2 separate regions of the Homo sapiens genome follow, and region 2 is linked to region 1. Evidence: promoter capture Hi-C in 16 types of primary human blood cells and fetal thymus (Javierre and others, 2016). All regions are on one chromosome and are shown on one strand. The core of a region is centred on a gene start or on the middle of the fragment in contact, and the rest is flanking DNA. Distances in the headings are between cores, read along the strand shown.

Region 1 (7,046 bases), core at 4,146-6,645:
AGCTTACTACTCAAGGCTTTCCCCTATGGTTCTAGCCCCTACCGATTCTTCTGGCCTCCTTGCCTACTGCCCAATCACCTTCTCTAGGAAATCTTCCCTGATACCCTTCCTAAGTCTCCCATAACACCCTGGCCGATATCTGTATCACAGGATGTGCCACGCTATACTGTAATGTTGATTGTATTGTCTATATTCCTCAAAAATGCTAGTAAAGTGCTTGGCACAGAGTAGGAATTCAATAACTGTGTGATAAATGAATGAGTGGATACATTAATGAGTATCAAGCAAGAAAGCCCCAAATAATGTCCTACCGCTTTACAGAACAGTGGTGCTTAAAATGTGGTCCCTGGGCCAGCAGCAACAGTGTCATCTGGGAACTTAGATATGCAAATTATAGATCCTGACCCAGACCTACTGAATAAAAAACTCTGGGGTTGAGACCTGGCCGTCTGTGGTTCACATCACCTCCAGGTGATTCTGATGTACATATATTAGGAGTATGGGAGTATAGTTATTATTAGTACTAATTCTTTAAATTTATTTGGTACTTGATAGATTACAAAATAATTTTCTAACTACTATCTTTCAAATCAAGGATGAAGTGGAGAGGGAAAAATTGTTAAGGAATTCAGATCTATTTTAAACACATCCCTATTTAGTACGCCTCTCAGTTCTGAGAAACTAACTTTGTCAGCAGTCGCACAAATTTGTGACTTTGTAGGAGTGTCTGCCTGGCCAGGTTGGGGTAGTGTCCTCTGTGGTCAGCAGCACCTCTAGTGAAATCTCATTGATTGGATGAAGGATTCCAGGTGAGCAAAATTGAATGTGATTAAATTCTCATTGATGCTGTAGGAAAGCTAAAGCTATAGGAAAAAAGGCTTACTCATGTAGGGGATGAGGGATACATGAGTATTTTTTAGTGCTTTATGCAGACATGATGTTTCAGTAAGTGAAAGAAGCCATTCACAAATTTATATGAACCCATTATTAGTTTACAAAAAAAAAATGTTCTTTAACTCTCTCCAGAAAAAAAATTGTGAAAGACACTAAAATGTTAATAGCAATTTTCTCCAGGTAGTGGGATTATACTTTTATAATTTTTTGCAAATAACATTATTTTCATGAGAAAAAAGATAATAATAAAGGTATAAAATTGGTTTTGTGTACTGGGGGAGCCTGACATGCAGAACTAATGATTAACTAATGATTGGTGTAGCTGGAGGCAGGATTTGAAAGAGAAGATTGGAATCTTAGAGGGTAGGAGCTAGAAAGAATCCAGGACAATTTAGCTGATATCAATGGGGTCCCTAAAGCATTGAAATAAGATTTCTGTAGGCAAAGACTGAGGACATTACTGGCTCAAGCTTTCTGGTAATTCAAGAGCAACTTCTAGCAAAAGAGAAGGGAAGAGCCTGGATGGAAAATAGATAGCCATGTATAGAAAGTAGATGGATAGCCATGGGTTTTTTCCCAGGACCTAGAAGGCAAGACGGCTCATTTGGAGAGTGGAAGTTAGGGTAAAATATCCCAGGCAGTTGGTGGCTCCAAGGATTGCAACTGAAGGAGGTAACAACTCGAAAAGAAGAAAGGGATAAGTAAGCAACTGGTGCCTGTAGCAAACATCCAGCACTTTAAACTTGTGCCAAACTAATTTCAAAAAATGAGATTATGGCCCTATTACTTATATTATCTGCATATAGTGCATACACTGTGGTTTCTTCACACTATGGTAAAAATGGGTTGTGTTCTTTAAAATAATGCCTGAGCAATACTTTGGAAAGGAGGTTGATGCAGAATTAAAGCAAAAGTTGTGAATCTCAAGGGCATGATCTCTAGAGAAGTCCTCCCATTCCCCTCTTCCCATATTCAAGCCTTTGGAGTAGAAAATTATTACTTGAGCAGTTTCTATTTATTGAGCAATTAATATTTGGAAGGCTAAATGCTTTGAATGGATTTCTCATTTATTATTCTATGAGTTAGATACTGCTATTATGCCCAACTTTACAAATGAAGGAATGGAGGTGTAGCTTGCAAAAGGGCAGTGTTAGGACTGTCTGGCTCTGAAGTCCAAATTCCTTCTAAAACGCTGCCCTGCATTTGTTAGTCCTGAAAATACCCTAAAGCAAGTAACAATCACTATAAAATGCTAAAATTAGTAATACCTACTGTGAGGTTATAAAATGATACGGTCATACTGCATTGGTGGGAATGTGAATTGGTGTGACCTTTCTGAAGGACAATTTGGCAATACTTACCAGAAGAATTTTAAGTGCAAGTGCCTTTTGTTTCAATTATTGAATTACTAGAAATTCACCCTAAACATTAACTGACAATGATATATGTCCAAGGCGTTTAGTGCAAAAACCTAGAAGCAATCAGTGTCCTTCAAAGGGGAGCTGGCTAATTAGCTTATGATACAGCCATGAAATAAAAATTAAGAAGGCCAGACATGGTGGCTCATGCCTTTAATCCCAGCACTTTGGGAGGCCAAGTCGGGAGGATCCCTTGAGCTCAGGAGTTGGAGACCACCATGGGCAACATAGTAAGACTCCATCTCTACCAAAAAAATTAAATTAAATTAAATTAGCTGTGTGTGGTGGCATGTACCTGTAGTCCTAGCTACTCGGGAGGCTGAGGTGGGAGGATCCCTTGAGTCCAGGAGGTTGAGGCTGCAGTGAGCTATGATCATGCTACTGCCCTCCAGCTTGGGTAACAGAGGGAGACACTGTCTTAAAAAAATTAATTAATTAAAGTTTAAAAAGCAAGGTAAAAAATAGTGTGTACAGTTGATTACTTTTGTAGTACAGTAATTTTTAAAAATATATATAGAAGGTAGATTGATACACTGACATATGAATAATGTTCCCCCCTGAAAAACATAAGAAGCTTTTAACAATAAATATCTTTGTGAAGAGTAACTGAATTATTATTTTCGTGCCACTTGCAGATATTTGAGCTTTTAAAATTTTGTTACCCCCATGTTTGCTATTTTTTAAAAATTAACAATTCATTAAATCTTTTAAATAAAAACCAAATAGCATTTATTGAGGCTTTATAATGTGCAAGGGACTGTGCTAAGCACTTTACCTGTAATACCTCATTACATTTTCACGTTAACTTCTTATCTCCTTTTTACAAGTGAGGAGTTAGAGGCTCAGACAAGTGAAATCACTTGCTTGGGGACACAGAGCTAGAATGTGGCGGAGCTGCAATTTTAATGCACCTCTGTCTCATTTCAGAGCCTTAGCTCTCAACTGCCAGGCCGCACTCTTCTGCTTGCTCTTTATACCCTCATTGCTTAATGAGAGTACACTAGCAAACAACAGGAGTCTAATGAGATAATGTATGTGAAAATACTTTTCTAAGTATAGAGATGTTTGGGGAGGGCAAGCAAGGGTAGGGAATTTGTTTAAATTGGGCGGACCTGTCCACTGACCCCTAGACAGTCAGGATTTTTTTTTTTTTTTTTTACAAAACCAAGATCAACAACTTTCTTTTGTTCCTCCTTTAAAAATATTATAAAGTTATATTTACTTCCTTTTTCCCAATTATTGTTTATAAATTAAAATATGGAGAAATAAAAGCCATTTCATAATAGTCCTCACCCATAATTACTTTGTTTCAGATTTGAATGGCTATGTAACTATTACACACCTGCGTTTTACATAAACAGTAGCAACTAGACATTTGTTCAGTATCTTGCTTTTTCAGCCCTACAATATATCTTGGCCATCTTTTTATATAAACACTTACAAATCTGCTTTTCTCTTTTAAAGTAGCTGCATAATATCCTATTCTGTGAATACAGATAGGTAGGTAGGTAGGTTGGTAGATAGATAGATAGATGATAGATAATAGATATAGAGAGCTATGAAACTTTTAAAAATCACCTACTGAAGGACATTTAAGCTTCTTCCAATTGTTTGATTTCCTAATCAATGCTGTAATGAATACCCTTCCTAAGAAAGTTTAGAAGGATCTTTAGACTGAGTGTAATATTTGTCCACTGTAGTTGACGAGAGTGACCCCACAGGACGCTGTACTGAGGGGAGGAGTATGTTTCACTGCGTGGAGAAACAAAGAACTCTCTCCTAAGCATGACCAACACATTCAGAGATATTAGAATTGCCAACAGGTGGGATGACCTGAAAAAGAACTCCTTGCTTTGACAGTTTAGTAATAGAGCAAAGACTTGCCACGATTGCTCAACACTGGCTGGATCAGAAGAGGAATTTCCAGACTCAGTTACAAGCACGGCTGGTGGAGGGCTGTGAATCCCACCAGACAGTCTGGAGACAGCTAGGCAGGGAGATGAGCAGCAGAGCTCCAAATCAGGCAACAGCACGTGTGAAAGGAGCAGTGACCTGTGGGGAAACTCATAACTCACAGACCAAACCCCTTCCAGCAGAGGGCAGTGCCTCTGATACGACACAGGGCCCAGGCCAGCTGGAGCCAGAGCTGGGGACTTCGCTGGAGAGATGGCACCGGCCTGAGGTCAAGGAGAAATTGAACTAAACTCTCCTTTGAAGACTGTAAGTGACATTGGGGAATACTCAGGGAGGGACAGTGGGACCTCACACTACTATGATTCGCCTGTGTTCTAATGTCCAACAATTTAGGCTGAGTAATAAATCTCTTTATAGAGTTTGGCCATTTAGGGCTTGTAAGTAAGGGAATTTGGAGTCATTTTTGCTAGGCTGGCCACTGAGTCTCGCAGGTTTCTGGGTACATGCTTGAATTGAAAAGAAAGTGACACACCTAAAATACAGCCTAGACTCCTGGCCCTGGGGCTCTGTGGATCCGACACAAAGTTTACAAATAGAAAGCTAGCAAAGGGAAAGATAGTCGGAAGTAACAATTTTATCTAAAAATAGAAACTTAGAATCTAACACCAGAGTTACTACTTGCTTTTGAATTTCAAAGACTACATAGGATGGCCTTTAAAACAAAACTTCAGCATGTAAGAGCCAGCCAAGCAAATTGTTATACATAATCAACGATTAAAATAAATTAGTCTTTAGGCCTAAACCGTTTCCAATCAAATCTTTCTTGAATATTGGTTACCTTTTCTGCCGTGTAGTGGTTGGAATCAAATGAGAACATAGCTGAGCAGAGTACCATAAAGTCTACTTCTAATGCTGCTGTTTTCGAGCCTTGTGATTTTTTTTTAAGTGACTTTAGTATTCGCTGGTAAAGTCAAGGCGGATCTACCAGACGGTAAAAGTTCTGTGTGTTTGTCAGGCACGGCTAAGTAAAACGCACTGCATCTGAAAGTCTAAGGGTAGTTTGCATGCATCTCTCAGCAAAATAGCAAGTGGAAGAAATACCAGCAAGGAGAATAAACTTTCTGGGCTGTTTGATTTCCCCTGCAACTTCTAGTCCAGGGATGTTTGGCGTTCTCCCGGTCGCTAGATTATTAGCCCGCAGGTTCCGCACCGGCCAGGGAGCCGCTCAAGTCCTAGGGCCGGGCGGCTGGAGGTTGCAGGTCGGAGGGGCTTCTACGGGTTTGGGGGTGGGACGGTCCGCGGCAGCCGCGGGCGGGTAAGGACTGACGTCGCAGGTTTCCAGAGGCCCGTTCCCGAAGCCGGAGTCCCGACCCGAAACCGTCCCCGGCCGGCTCGCTCGCTCAGCAGGGCGCGGCTCCAGCGCCACCCGGCTCGCCCCGAAGAGGTGGGACTTTCCCCACCGGAAGTGATCCCGTCCAGTCTCGGGGAACTGGGGCACCTCAGCCAGTGTGTCAGGGAAACCCTTCCGGGTGTGTGCTTGGTGGGGGTGGGGGTGGGGGTGGGGGTGGGGGTGGGGGGTGGGTGAGAAAAAAAAGAGGTGGGTTCGCCTGGAGTCCCTGCGGCCGCCGCGGAAGGCCCCCGCTTCTTTCCCCGCGGCGAGCAGCAGCGCTGGGGCAGCGGAGAGACAGAGGAGCCAGCGGGTGGCCATGGCCTTGGCGTGACAGAGCCTCCCCGGCGGCCGGGCGGGTGCGGACGGCGGGGTAAGCGGCAGTAGCTTGATCCGGGTGGGAGTTGGGGGAGGCGGCGGCCGGCGCCGCAGGTTCGGGGCGGGGGTCAGCCGGGTAATGTGCGTCCTTCTCCCCTTCACAGGCCGGACGACCCCCGCGGGAGCCGGGGCCCAGAAACCCGCCCGGGCAGCGGTAACTGGAACGGAGCCCTCAGGCCTGAGCCGGCTGGGCTGCGCGAGCAGGAAGCGGGGTCCCTGGGCCCCTTTGTGTGAAGGGCGGGGGAGGAGTGCCGGGCAGCCCCGGGCTGCGGGCTCCTCCGACGTCCGCCTCGCCGCAGGGTCCCCTCGCCGCAGCCCCCACCCTTTCCCTCCCGGGGGCACGCGCCTCCTCGCCACCCTCGCCGGGCTTTTCCCAGGCTCGCCCTCCTCCCCACGCCCCCTGCTCGGGCTGCAGTTCCTATAGGAAGGGCATTACCATCCCTTCCCCACCCTCCCCGACTCTACGCTCTTTCCCCTCCCCCTCCTGTAACTTCCTCTTCTTCCCCGGTTGGGCCCTCTGCTCCTCTGCACTCTCCTCCCCAGTTCGCAGATTTCCGCCCACCTTCCGCCTCGTCTAGCCGCGCCACAGCTAGCGGGGTGATCTTTCCCCCCCTCTGGTAGGAGTTGGTGAAGGTGAGACTCATGAGGGAATACAAGGTAGTGGTGTTAGGGAGTGGAGGGGTTGGCAAATCTGCCCTTACTGTGCAGTTTGTCACTGGGACTTTCATTGAGAAATATGACCCCACCATTGAAGATTTCTACCGCAAAGAGATCGAAGTGGACTCTTCCCCCTCCGTGCTGGAAATTCTGGACACCGCAGGAACTGAGCAGTTTGCCTCCATGAGAGATCTCTACATCAAAAACGGCCAAGGTTTCATCCTGGTTTATAGCCTGGTTAATCAACAGTCTTTTCAGGTAACCAAACCAAGTCTTGTAATTTGTTAGAAGGGGGTGTGGTAATCCGACATCGACTTCTGGGTTGCTTGAACCGTGCATTAATGACTGTGCTTTGCTTTTGAAAGTTAGACATGACGCATTTTTGAGGTTACTCCTGC
Region 2 (6,437 bases), core at 3,425-5,924, 2.6 Mb before region 1:
TATGCATCATTCAACATGAATTTATAAAACCCTAGCTGATATCTGAACTAAGTGCTACTTTTAACTCGGAAAAAGCAGAAGTAGTATAACTGGATGGATGTTCAATGTTCCACATCAAATGATCAATAAACAGCTCTGTCTAAACTATAATAGATTTATGTCACTTATATTCCCAAAGCAATCATTTCTCATGGCTGCTATTCTTCCACGTTCGTAAAAGTTCAATAAACCAGAAGATGGGCAAACTTTTTCTGCGAAGGGCCAGAGAGTAAATATTTTAGGATTTGTGGGCCATACAGTATCTGTTGCAACTCCTCAGTTCTGCCACTGCAGTGGGAAAGTAGCCATAGATAACAACTAAACAAATGGGGATGGTTCCATTCCAATAAAATTTTATTTGCAAATCCAGGTGGTGGGCTGCATTTGGCTCTGGGGCAGTAATTTGCCTTTCAAATAGAATTGAGGGTCAGGAGTGGTGGCTCACGCCTGTAATCCCAGCACTTTGGGAGGCCAAGGTGGGTGGATCACAAGGTCAAGGGTTCAAGACTAGCCTGGCCAACATAGTGAAACCCATCTCTACTAAAAATACAAAAATTAGCCTGGCCAACATAGTGAAACCCGTCTCTACTAAAAATACAAAAATTAGCCTGGCGTGGTGGTGCATGCCTGTAGTCCCAGCTACTCGGAGGCTGAGGCAGGAGAATCGCTTGAGCCCAGGAGGCAGAGGTTGCAGTGAGCCGAGATTGAACCACTGCACTCCAGCCTCAAGACTCCATCTCAGGAAAAAAAAAAAAAAGAATTGAGGCAGTAACAGTTTAAATGCAGGGTCAAGGTAGAGGTTTTTAAGGTAGGGAGGCACTGGCAGGAATACAAGAACCTAATCTCTGAGTCTTTGAATAAGGGTCAGAGAAAGAGAAGAAAAAACTCCTAGCTTTAAGTATAGTTATTGACACCAGTAATAAAGTCAGCCAATTACAGAGATAAAGAGTATAAAGAACCAAGAGGTTCAAAACTTTTGACGTTGGAATTTTTATTAGTTCAAGATATACATAAAACAGTGCAGATACTTCTTTAAAACAGTAATACTGTATTAAAGAGTTGATATGAAAGAAACAAACCTAAGGAATTTAATTCTGCAAATGCTGGTGCAAGAGGGTCTTTATATAGAAGAAACATCAAGCAAAGTTCGAAAATTACTTGAAAGAGGTGCAACAATGTTTAGCAAGCTAAATATTTTCTACAACAGCACAAAACATCCCCTCAGATCATTTGGGCAAGTTCCCTGACCTCAGGCATGTCACACATCATTCCTATGTTACTTCTTTCTGAGGGACTGGAGTCTCTGAACTCTGTCCACTTTGTGGTTTCTATATCTTTAATTCCTACTAAAGAAATATGCTAGTGACTTTCACCTTTCTGAAAAGAATGCTTTACTGGCCAGGTATAGTTTAGAAAGAGGAAGTACTCAAGTATTAGAGGGCCAAGGAAGGAAAAAAAAAGGGAGAAAAGTGAGCAGTATACATATGCAAATGAGAACTGAGGTGAAAATGAATTCAACTAAGGCTCAGTGTAATCCTACTCTAAATTTTTCTTGCTTCAGAATAACTTCTCTGACTATGCCCTACATTTTCTACAACAGCACAAAATATGCCCTCAGATCATCTGGGCAAGTCCCCTAATCTCAGGGATGTCACACATCATTCCTATGTTACTTCTTTCTGACAGACTAGAGTCCCTGGACTCCGTCCACTTTGTGGTTTCTGTATCTTTAAACTCCTACTACAGAAATATGCTAGTGACCCTTATCTTTCTGTACAAATTTTACTTCATGCATCAGGATCTTAAGCTATGGAATGTAACACTGTAGCTATGCTCTAATATAAGCAAAAAACAAACAAACAAAACAAAAAAATCCTTTGCAGAACAAAGCAAGGTATGAAGGGATAACTGAGATCTCTCTGTTTCCAGGGCTTTAAGGATTAGGGAAGGGTCCACTCCTTCTCTGGTGTATTTAATACATTAAAGAGGATCCACAGGTTCCTTCCAGTACACATCTTCCATCGTCTATTTGCAACCTATTTCTTCTTTTTATATTGTCTTCAATAAATCCAACATTCTCCCTACTGCTCTCTTCTACTAGTAGAGTGGGTCCCATAATTCCTTTTTCCCACAACAGAATTAGAGCAAAATCCTGAGTGAATAAAATGTTCTTGTTCTCAGCACAACATGCAGAGTCCCCCTTCTATGTTTTTCTACCTGCCTATTTTAAAAAGGTAATGTATTTTTTTTTGGTCAATCTTAGTTTGCTTTTCATTTTGTGAACAATATATTCTCTCCTACCTCAAATGACCCAAAAGCTGCATTCATTTAGAGTTAATCAGCTTAGGTATTGGTTAGTAGTGGCCAGAACAGTAGTTTAGGAGTCAGGAAACAGAGCTTCCTAGTACTGGCTCTGCCACTAAACGTCATTTTGGAGATTTATGGGCCTCAGTTTCCTCATATGTTAAACAAGGAGGGTAAAGCTGGTCTCTGAATCCCTTCCTGATAGTCTATGGTACTGTGAATTACAACTATCAATTAGTATGATGCAACAAAAGGTGAAGAGCAAAGTTAGTAACATATGTAGTGAATGCATTTTTCAGACATTTTTACGGTATCTAGAAAACCTTATAATACTGAAATGTGAAATCCAACATCTCATTTTAAAAGTCTAGTTTAAGAAGTAAGATTTAGGCCAGGCGCAGTGGCTCACGCCTGTAATCCCAACACTTTGGGAGGCCAAGGTGGGCGGATCACAAGGTCAGGAGATCAAGACCATCCTGGCTAACACGGTGAAACCCCGTCTCTACTAAAAATACAAAAAATTAGGTGGGCGTGGTGGCGGGTGCCTGAAGTCCCAGCTACTCGGGAGTCTGAGGCAGGAGAATCGCTTGAACCCGGGAGGCAGAGGTTGCAGTGAGCCGAGATCATGCCACTGCACTCCAGCCTGGGCGACACAGTGAGACTCCGTCTTAAAAAAAAAAAAAAAAGGAAACAAGATTTAGTAATCCCAGATCTTCAGAAATACAGTTAACCATCATTTAGTGTAGTGTTTCTAAATCCTTTTTTCATTATTGACCCTCTAAAAAGCCTTTTTAGACATTTTTCCCCTAATTGCTCCCCCTTCGTGAAATTTTAATAACACATATATAGTATATATCTGTGTACATACTGTATGTATATCTGCGCTTTATACATAAAAAGAGTAAAAATTTTTCACACTCCCCCAAGAACTATTTTCTCTTCCCCTTGGGGGAAGTATCACCCAGTGAGAATGTGTAATTTAGGAGATCAAGCTTCTGTGGTACCAAAACTTTCTGCTCCAATAAAAAATAGGTGTAGGCCAGGAGCAGTGGCTCACGTCTGTAATACCAGCACTTTGGGAGGCTGAGGCAGGCGGATCCCCTGAGGCCAGGAGTTCGAGACCAGCCTGGCCAACATGGTGAAACCCTGTCTCTACTAAAAATACAAAAAATTAGGCCGGGCACGGTGGCTTACGCCTGTAATCCCAGCACTTTGGGAGGCCGAGGCGGGCGGATCACGAGGTCAGGAGATCAAGACCATCCTGACTAACACGGTGAAACCCTGTCTCTACTAAAAATACAAAAAATTAGCCGGGAGTGTTGGTGGGCGCCTGTAGTCCCAGCTACTTGGGAGGCTGAGTCAGGAGAATGGCGTGAACCCGGGAGGTGGAGCTTGCAGTGAGCCGAGATCACGCCACTGCACTCCAGCCTGGGCGACAGAGTGAGACTCCGTCTCAAAAATAAATAAACAAATAAATAAAAAATAAAAATACAAAAAATTACCAGGTGTGGTGGTGGGCGCCTGTAATCCTAGCTACTAGGGAGGCTGAGGCATGAGAATTGCTTGAAGCCAGGAGGCGGAGGTTACAGTAAGCTGAGATCGTGCCAATGCACTCCAGCCTGGGCGACAGAGCAAGACTCCGTCTCAAAAAAAGACAAAAAAAAAAATGTAAAAAAGTCCAAAGCTTATTTGCTTGACAACCATTTCCATTCAAGCGGCTGGAGGTGAAGGTCAGAGGTGACAAAGCAGCTGAAATGACAAATATTACAGTCATGGCAGAAGATCTGGAGGTGAGTGGGGGAGGATACTAAGTTTCTTCAAAGGAGTGGGTAAGAAATGGGTTGAAGTTAGAAAAAAGCCGTGCTCCACACCAACTGGCTGCTACTTTCGGGTCCGAGTGGACTATCAGGGGAGGATGTTCAGATTCAGATGTTTGTCAACCTCAGGGTGGGTGCGCGCTCCCCCTCAGGTCAGCCCGTCCCACTACCCCCACCCAAGGTTGAGGGTGGGATCTCCGGACACCAGGAACAAGGGAGTTACCTGCAGAACCTCAACAAATAAAGGGACGGGAATTCTATAGGAAATCACTTTCCCGAACACCTCCTCCCCACCGCTTGCCTCCTCCAGTATCTCAACCCGGCTCACCCAAGTCCATTGATCAAAGGGGCACTGTTGACTCTTCTCAGAATGTTGCCGTCTGCGGTAGTGGAACTCGGCAGCGACTTGAAACCTAGTTTCATTTTCTCCTGTGCCATGTCCGGGTCGAGGAATAAGTTCTCAAGGCTTTCCGGCTCCCGTCCACACAAGGACAAGTCTACTTAGTGGGCAGGTGATGTAAGGAGAGAGGCAAAGGGGAAAAAGAGAAGAGAGGAGAAAGCTCTTAGGCGAGTAGGGGTGCCCACCTTTGCAGCCCTAGCAGCCCTAACATCAGTGAACACAAAGTTAGGCAGAACTGGCTCCGAACCGCCTATCTCCCATGATCGGGGCCTCTAACGATGAGAAGATCCCCCACCTCCAAGTCTATAATGTAACTGGGGAATTTAATCTGTCACCGCCGCGAATCCTTCTCCATCTCTCTCAGCCCTGGCAACTCATGGTAAGCCTTTCCGGCCAAAACAAAAACTACAATCTGCCGCCTTTGACAATCAGTTGGGTCCCGCCCCTCAGAGCCTGCGATAAGCTATCAGCCGGACGACGCCTGTTGTGATGCAGGCAATGACGTCACTTCAGGCGCCTTAGTCAGCTTTGCCAGGGGCGCACGCGCAGTTAAGAAACCGCTTTATCCCCATGTCCTGCCCTCCTTCCTCTTTCCCCAATGCCCACTTACCGTGGTTGTGCCTCTACTCTTTTACTAACCCTGGCATGGTTTCCTTAAGCATTATTTAGAAATGAAAGCGTTGGGAGGAGTGAGGTCCTTCCTGCCCTATGCCTAATTCTCATTTTTCTTATCCCTTTATGACTGAGGCCAACAAGCTTCTAACCTCCTATGATGCATTTTTCCATCCTGTAACAGCAGACACACTACACCTTTGTAATTTTAGAAAAGCAAAAGTCTGAAAAAAAAAAAAAAAAAAAGATACTGCTACCTAAGTGCTTAGAGGCCACTTGGTCCCAAAGGGTCTTGCTAAGGTGCTAACCTAACTGAGCTCATTTGGCAAACGAATTACTGTTTTCAGTGTGGTTTCTTTCTTTCTTTTTTAAACCATAATCGTACAGTTTTTTGTTTTTTTTTTTTTGAGATGGAATTTCGCTCTTGTTGCTCAGGCTGGAGTGCAGTGGCCGCGATCTCGGCTCACTGCAACCTCCACCTCCCAGGTTCAAGCGATTCTCCTGCCTCAGCCTCCCGAGTAGCTGGGATTACAGGTGCTCGCCACCACGCCTGGTTAATTTTTGTATTTTAGTAGAGACGGGGTTTCACCATGTTGGCCAGGCTGGTCTCGAACTCCTGGACCTCAGGTGATCCGCCCGCCTCGTCCTCCCAAAGTGCTGGGATTACAGGCGTGAGCCACCGCGCCTGCCTCAGTGTGTATTTTTACATTATATATAATCTGGCTCCTCACAGCTATTCATATAAAAAATAAAGACCTCAGCTAATTTACAAAGATTTGAGTTAAAGCAGTGAGGCTTTTTTAAAAACAAATATCTCAGAATTTAGTATCAATGCAAATCAGTGTTTTCATTTCAGGTAGTATTAGAAGCTACATACATTCTAAGAATGCTGCCATGGCTCATATCGTTTTAAGAACTACTCTTTTAGAAATTTTCACCATCACTTAATGAGCCACACTGAGTACTGAAATCTTAACTCCATGCTAATAATTTTGTAAAACCACACATTTTAGTAACCATATAGAGAACTGGCAGACAAGGCAAATAAACCTAGTGAAATGGGAGTTATTAATTAAAATAGTCATAACACTGGTATAGCACTTTACGGATAACATTTTTTTTTTTTTGAGACGGAGTTTCGCTCTTGTTGCCCAGGCTGGAGTGCAATGGCGCAATCTTGGCTCACCACAACCTCCACCTCCCTGGTTCAAGCGATTCTCCTGACTCAGCCTCCAGAGTAGCTGGGATTACAGGCATGTGCCACC

Evidence for each region. The method cuts DNA at HindIII sites, captures the fragments that hold promoters and counts their contacts. A CHiCAGO score of 5 or more calls a contact.
Region 2: a contact is called between a fragment that was not itself captured here and the fragment with the promoter of RAP2C-AS1 in region 1, in 3 of 17 cell types (total B cells, non-activated CD4 T cells and naive CD4 T cells). The highest score is 6.5, in total B cells.

What each region holds. Positions count from the first base shown.
Region 1 is chrX:132,216,856-132,223,901 of GRCh38, reverse strand. RAP2C-AS1 (RAP2C antisense RNA 1) reads right to left here and starts at 5,395. Exons shown (of 3, transcript NR_110410.1): 1 at 5,065-5,395. RAP2C (RAP2C, member of RAS oncogene family) reads left to right here and starts at 4,455. Exons shown (of 6, transcript NM_001271186.2): 1 at 4,455-4,532; 2 at 5,561-5,670; 3 at 5,890-5,986; 4 at 6,096-6,906. The coding sequence starts at 6,634. RefSeq lists enhancers at 1-149, 4,084-4,133, 4,464-4,533 and silencers at 5,966-6,015, 6,026-6,465. The HindIII fragment of the contact is 10,936 bases long and covers 3,912-7,046 here.
Region 2 is chrX:134,805,760-134,812,196 of GRCh38, reverse strand. PABIR3 (PABIR family member 3) reads right to left here and starts at 4,960. Exons shown (of 11, transcript NM_001388447.1): 1 at 4,856-4,960; 2 at 4,489-4,657. The coding sequence starts at 4,598. RefSeq lists a silencer at 1,497-1,566 and enhancers at 3,102-4,058, 4,444-4,603. The HindIII fragment of the contact is 1,289 bases long and covers 4,030-5,318 here.